Linked DNA regions of Homo sapiens: region 1 is linked to region 2. The links are contacts of gene promoters, found by promoter capture Hi-C in blood cells and fetal thymus (Javierre and others, 2016). All regions are on one chromosome and are shown on one strand. Each heading gives the region's core, a stretch centred on a gene start or on the middle of the fragment in contact. The rest is flanking DNA. Distances are from core to core; before and after follow the strand shown.

Region 1 (3,162 bases), core at 84-2,583, 320 kb before region 2:
GTATGGGATTAACGCCATGAGCCACCGAGCCCGGCCTATTTTCTATGTAATTTAAGAAACTAATGCATTAAAGTAATTATTAGTTTATATATTTGGAGATATAATGTACAAAGATGTAATTTGGGGCCATCAACAACTGAAAGGGATGGGATGGAGGTGTTAAAGGAGCAGAGTTTTTGTGTGTTATTGAAGCTGGCATAAATTCAAATTAGAGCGTAATAACTTTAAGATGTTAAATGTAATTCCTCTGGTTACCACAAAAAAAAAGAAAGAAAGAATATACACAAAATGAAATAAGAAAAGAATTTAAATGTTTCACTACAAAATAAAAATCAACTAAACAAAAAAAAAAACAGTAATGTAGAAAATGAGGGACAAAAAAGCTCTAAGGCATGTAGAAAACAAATAGCCAAATGACAGATAAGTCCCTCTTTGTCAATAATTACTTTAAATGTAAATGGATTAAGTCTTCTAATTGAAAGGCAGAAATTGGCAGAATGAATAAATAACATATTCCAACTATATGTTGTCTTCAAGAGACTCACTTTAGATCCAAAGATACAAACAGGTTAAAATTGAAAGGATGGAAAAGGATATTGTATGCAAATTGTAACTAAAAGAGAGCTGGGATGGCTATGCTAGTATCAGACAAAATGGACTTTAGATCTAAAAAGGTTACAAGAGACAAAGAAGGACATTATATACTAATAAAAAGCCCAAGCTGAGCACAGATTTCACCTGTAATCCCAGCTACTCAGGAGGCTGAGGCAGGAAGATCACTTGAGGCCAGGAGTTGGAGACCAGCCTGAGTAACATAGCAAGACCTCATTTATTAAAAAATAAATTAATACATAGATGATATGATTATAATGATAAAATGATTATAAACAGGCACTTAATAACAGACAAAATATATGAACAAAAATTGACAGAATTGAGGGGAGAAATAGACAATTCTACAATAGTAGTTGGAGAATTATACCCAATATATACAGGACACTCTCCCCAACAAGATAACACTACCCAACAACAACAGGATTGCGTATGGGACATTTTCCAGGATAGACCATTAGTTATGCCACAAGTTAATTTCAATAGATTTTTTTTAAAGATAAATATTAAAGTATCTTTTCTGATCACAGATGAAGTTAGAAAACAATAACCAAAGGAAAATTGGAAAATTCACAAATTTGTGGAAATCAAACAGCACACTCTTAAATAACCAGTGGACCAAAGAAGAAAACACATAGGTAATTATTAGAAAATACTTAGAGACGAATGAAAACACAATGTAACAAAACTTATGGCACATGGTGAAAACAGGGCTAAGGAAGAAATTTATGGTTATAAATGCTTATATTAAAAAACAAGAAATAACTTAAATCTAAGGTGTAATATCTTAGAATTTTACACCTTAAGAATCTAGAAAAAGAAAAACACAGTAAACCCAAAGCTAACCGAAGGAAGGAAATAAAGATTCAAGCAGGGAGAAACAAAATAGATAATAGAAAAGATCAATTTGGGTACAACCAACCAAAAGTTGGTTCTCTAAAAGTACCAGAAAAATTCCTAGACCTTTAGCTAGCTAGACTAAGAAAAAAGAAGACTCAAATTATTAAAATCAGGAATGAAAATGGGAACATTACTACTGATTCTACAGAAATAAAAAGGATTATAAGAGTACTATGAGCAATTGTACATTAACAAATTGGATAACCTAGATGAAGTAGACAAATTTCTGAAAACAAAACCTACTAAGACTAAACTATGAAGAAATAGAAAACCTGAATAGACCTATATCTGGTAGCATTATTCTCAATAGCCAAGATTTAGAAACAACCTAAGTGTCCATTGATGGATCGTGGGTGAGGAAAATGTGGTGTGTGCATACAGTGGAATGTTATTCAACCTTGGAAGGAAATTCTAACATGGATGAACTTTGAGGACATTATGTTAGGTGAAAAAAAATTCACAATTTATGCCACTTACAAAAATTCAAATACTACATAATTTCACTTACACAGGGTACTTAGAGTAATCTGAATCATAGAGACAGAAAGTAAAATGGTGGTTGCTAGTGACTAGCAAGAGGGGAGAATGTGGAGCTATTGTTTAATGGGTACATTTTCAGTTTTGCGAGATGAAATGAGTTCCGGAGATGGAGGATGGCAATGGTCGCACAGCAATAGGAATGTCCTAAATACCTTGAACTGTACACTTAACAAACGGTTAAAATAGTAAATCTTATGGAAGAAACTATAAGAACACAAAAATGAGCCAGGCGTGGTGTCTCACGCCTATAATCCCAGCACTTTGGGAGGCCAAGGCAGGCGGATCATGAGGTCAAGAGATGGAGACCATCCTGGCCAACATGGTGAAACCCTGTCTCTACTAGAAATACAAAAATTGCTGGGTGTGGTGGCGCGCCCCTGTAATCCCAACTACTAGGGAGGCTGAGGCAAGAGAATCGCTTGAACCCACGAGGCAGAGATTGCAGTGAGCTGAGATTGCGCCACTGAACTCTAGCCTTTCGACAGAGCAAGACTCCGTCTAAAAAAAAAAAAAAACCACACACACACACAAAAATGGGTTTTTAACAACTATTTTAAAAATGAACCTTACAAGGTCAGAATTGTGCACCACTGGGAGGGTTACACTCAGTGGTTTGTTGGAGCTGGCTCCTGTAGGCTGGTGAGAGCCATTTGTTAAATATGTAAGAAATTTTATGAGCCAGTGGTAATCTTGAAATCAGCCATAGTGGGAGTATTTAGACCATGGAAATCAACAAATGCTACAAATCAGAGGTTTTTTGGTTTTTTTTTTTTGAGACAGAGTCTTGCTCTGTCGCCCAGGCTGGAGTGCAATGGCGCCATCTCAGCTCACTGCAAGCTCCGCCTCCCGGGTTCAAGCGATTCTCCTACCTCAGCCTCCCGAGTAGCTGGGACTACAGGCGCTCCTCACCACGCCCAGCTAATTTTTTGTATTTTTAGTAGAGACAGGGTTTCACCGTGTTAGCCAGGATGGTCTCGATCTTCTGACCTCGTGATACGCCTGCCTCGGCCTCCCAAAGTGCTGGGATTACAGGTGTGAGCCACCGCGCCCGGCCACAAATGAGAGGTTTTTAAAAATCGCTTTTCATCCCCCCCCCCCGTTCCTCTCACC
Region 2 (3,515 bases), core at 986-3,485:
GTCCGTTATTAAATTAGTAAATGGAGAAGAGACAAATCTCCCATGCAGAAGAATTTCAAATAATTTCTGCAGATACTGCATCCTCAAAGAGGGACAACATAACTCCCTACTCCTTAAATGTGGGCTTCAAATAATAGCTTCCTTCCAAAGTGTATAGTATGAAAAGGGAAGGGAAAAAAAAGAATATAGTAGAAAGACCCAACAAACACTACCACAGCCAGATGACCAAATCCTACATCAATTGTCATAATCATATTCATAGGATGTATGCTTGATATGATGCAATAAAAATGGCATTTTTACCTCTGTGGTCTTCCTTCCAATAACCCGTAACTCCTTTCCTACCAGCAGAAAAACATCAGACAAATTCCAAAAGTAGGGCATCCTACAAAAGGCCTGAGAGTACTCCTGGAAACTTGACATCAAGGTCATCAAAACAAAGTCTAAGGAAGTCCCATGGCCAAGAAGAGCCTAAGGATCCATGAAAACTAAATGTAATATGATATCCTGATGAGATCTTGCATCAGAAAAGGGACAGTAGGTAAAAACGAAGGAAATCAAAAAGATGGGCTTTAGTTAATACTGTATCAATGTTGGTTCCTTGGTTCCTTAATTATAACAAATGTATCATGCTAACAGACCATGCTAATAATAGGGGAAACGATGTGGCTTCTGTCAGAACTCTGTACAGCACCTTCTTTTCTTTCTTTCTTTTTCTTTTTTTTTTTTTTTTTGAGACAGTCTTGCTCTGTTGCCCAGGCTGGAGTGCAGTGGCAGTGATCTTGGCTCGGTGAAACCTCCGCCTCCTGGGTGCAGGCGATTCTCCTGCCTTAGTTTCCCAAGTAGCTGGGATTACAGGCGCCTGCCACCACACCCAGCTAATTTTTTTTTATTTTTTTATTTTAAGTAGAGACGGGGTTTCACCATGTTGGCCAGGCTGGTCTCGAACTCCAGACCTCAAGTGATCTGCCTGCCTCGGCCTCCCAAAGTGCTGGGATTACAGGCATGAGCCCCCACGCCCAGTCAGCACTTTCATTTCACTATTCTGTAAATCTGAAACTGCTCTAAAAAATAAATTTAAAAGACACATCAACTAAAGAAAAAAAATCAGGCTTTTAAAGAATTGAAGTTAGTGAAGTTAGTTTTATTCAGAGTCTTACTGAGGACTGCAACCAGGGAGAGCCCAGAGAATTTCTGTTAAACTACTCCAAAGCAGTGGGTCAGCACACTTTAAATATTAGGTGGTAGAGGTTCTGCCCAGGGGTTACATTAAAAGTGCCCAGAAGCTATATAAGATCAAAATATTTTCAAAGTTTGGGTGCGAGAGTAAGTCTAGGCATCATCATTAATCTTGTCCGTTAGGTACAGAAAAAGGCAAGGCCTAGATCTCTGAAAGTATCTTTTCTAAAAATGCAGTGACTCTGAGAGGTGGGAACCTGAGTTCTCTCCGCAGTCTTCAAGGCATTCTTCTGGAGGGCTGAGATGTTACTAAGTCAAGGGGTCTGAAATGCTGACAAACACAGTGAACAAACGTGGCTTTTTCACAGTGAGGGAGGACTATGCTGGGGGCCAGAAGCAGACGTTCGCTACTTTGTCTCACATTTACAATTCTCGGATTTGCTTCAAAACATTGCCCGAAGAGTGCCTGGGCTGCAGATGTAGACAAGATTAACCATGAATTGATAAGGTAGAAACTAGATGATAGGCACACAAGGGTTCCCTTATGAAATTGTTAGAAAAGTTCCATAGCAAAAAAAAAAAAAAACAAAACTTAAAAAGCTTGTCTTTAAGTAACACCAACAGGTATAATCACATGCCCTCAGTCAGGAAGCAAAGAAAAAAAGTATGAGCACGTGTGTGTTTACTTTCCAAGACCAGGCAGAGGCTGTTGATTATTTGGAAAACCTTGGAAGACCTTTAAGTGGCCACGGTGACCCAAGTGACCTTCGAGGAGACAAAGTCTGCATCTTTGCGCCCAAATTTGCCAAAGGCGTTGCCAGAGACATCTTTCTAGAAGAAGCTAGAACAAAATAAAAGTTTCTGCAAAGGAACTTTTTGAGCCTGTAACTAGAGCACAAGCTGCTTCCGGGGAAGGCGGAGGGAACACGTGGGCACATTGAGTTGCACGTGGACGCGGAGTGCGCAGGCGTGCGCTGAGGCCAGGAGGGCGCACTGGGGATTGGAGGCGAGGGAAGTGCAGGGCGCATCCCAGGCGGCAGGGCTCCCAGCATCGGCAGTCGCCATCACCGCCAGACCGCAGAGACAGGTTCGGATCCGCGGTCCTCTTGCCTCTTTCCAGGTCAGGGTTCCCAGGCGTATAGGGGAGGGAGAGGGCCTGCATGAAGGGGAAGGGAGGGGGCTTCGGTCGTTGGGGGCCAGACGTTGGGCGCTGGACGTTGAGGTTGGGCGTTGAGCGGGTACAAGGGGCCTGGAAGTGGAGAGAGGAGACTTGGAACCTTGCTGCGAGGGTTTGGTGTGGGAGGATTCTCTGAGTTTGGAAATAGCGCTTCCAGGCATCACTCCTTCAAATGCAAACGTTCACCTTCTCTCTAAGAGAAACTTGCATGTGGATTCAGTGCCTTCGTTTGACTAAAAATTACGATACAAACAATATTAACATTTACTAGACTTTTTTTTCCCTACTTTCCTCCTATAGGAAAGGAAGATGTGCTAGGGCATTTACTTAGATGTGGGTCAGCTGGCGCTAGTTTGTTTAAGGAGTTCCTGCTGTGTGCCAGTAGCTTTTCCGGGCCCTAGGGTCCTTGCTATAAATACGTTAGCCCTGCTGGGCTTCTGAACTAAGGGAGCTAAATGCTTCCAGCTTCCTTAGTGAGGCAGCACGGTGCTGTATGCTTAAATCCAAGGCCGTGGAGTCTGACCTGCGTTTTTATCTAAACTGTGTAAGGTGCTGGCCCTGGGTGGTTTGGTAAGTTATTCCAACTTCCCACGTCTCCCTTGTTTATCTGTAGGAATAACGAAATAAAAATACTTTAGTCCTCAAATTATTTTCATCTTAAGCCTGCAAGCTGGTTCCACAGGAATGGAAGAAATTTTGTGCTTGTAGGAGTGGTATAAAAGTAAAGCAGAAATAATAGCTGCCCTTTAAGCCCTTAGGAAGTACTAGCCACTGTGCTAAGTGATTTACTTCGTCTCTCATTTAATTCTCGTGATTAGGATTTGTGAGGAAGTTAACTACTGCCCTCTGCATTTTACAGTCGCTGAATCCTAGAAAGATGAAGTGATTTGCCCAAGATAGCGTGGCTAAATGAGGAAGACGAGACTTACCTGGCTGACTTAAGAGCTCATGCTTTACCGAAGCGTTGCGTTTTGTCTGTTTAAAACCGGAGTGTTTTTGTTTGTTCTTTGAGTAAGAGTTTCACTCTTGTTGCCCAGGCTGGAGTGCAATGGCGCGATCCCAGCTCACTGCAACCTCCGCCTCCCGGGTTCAAGCGATTCTCCAGCCTCAGCCTTCCTAGTAGCTGGGATTACAGGCCAGCCACCGGCGCCCTGCTAAT

What was found. The method cuts DNA at HindIII sites, captures the fragments that hold promoters and counts their contacts. A CHiCAGO score of 5 or more calls a contact.
Region 1: a fragment that was not itself captured here is called in contact with the fragment with the promoter of TDRD1 in region 2 in 1 of 17 cell types (neutrophils); the score reaches 6.4 in neutrophils.

The regions. Positions count from the first base shown.
Region 1 is chr10:113,862,143-113,865,304 of GRCh38, forward strand. All of the region lies in intron 2 of NHLRC2 (NHL repeat containing 2), which reads left to right. It overlaps LOC124902506 (a long non-coding RNA gene), which reads left to right. Exons shown (of 2, transcript XR_007062295.1): 2 at 1,143-1,498. Among named protein-coding and RNA genes, the nearest start is that of NHLRC2, 9.1 kb to the left of the region's middle. The HindIII fragment of the contact is 7,063 bases long and covers 1-3,162 here.
Region 2 is chr10:114,177,118-114,180,632 of GRCh38, forward strand. TDRD1 (tudor domain containing 1) reads left to right here and starts at 2,236. Exons shown (of 25, transcript NM_001395205.1): 1 at 2,236-2,299. The HindIII fragment of the contact is 8,256 bases long and covers 1,778-3,515 here.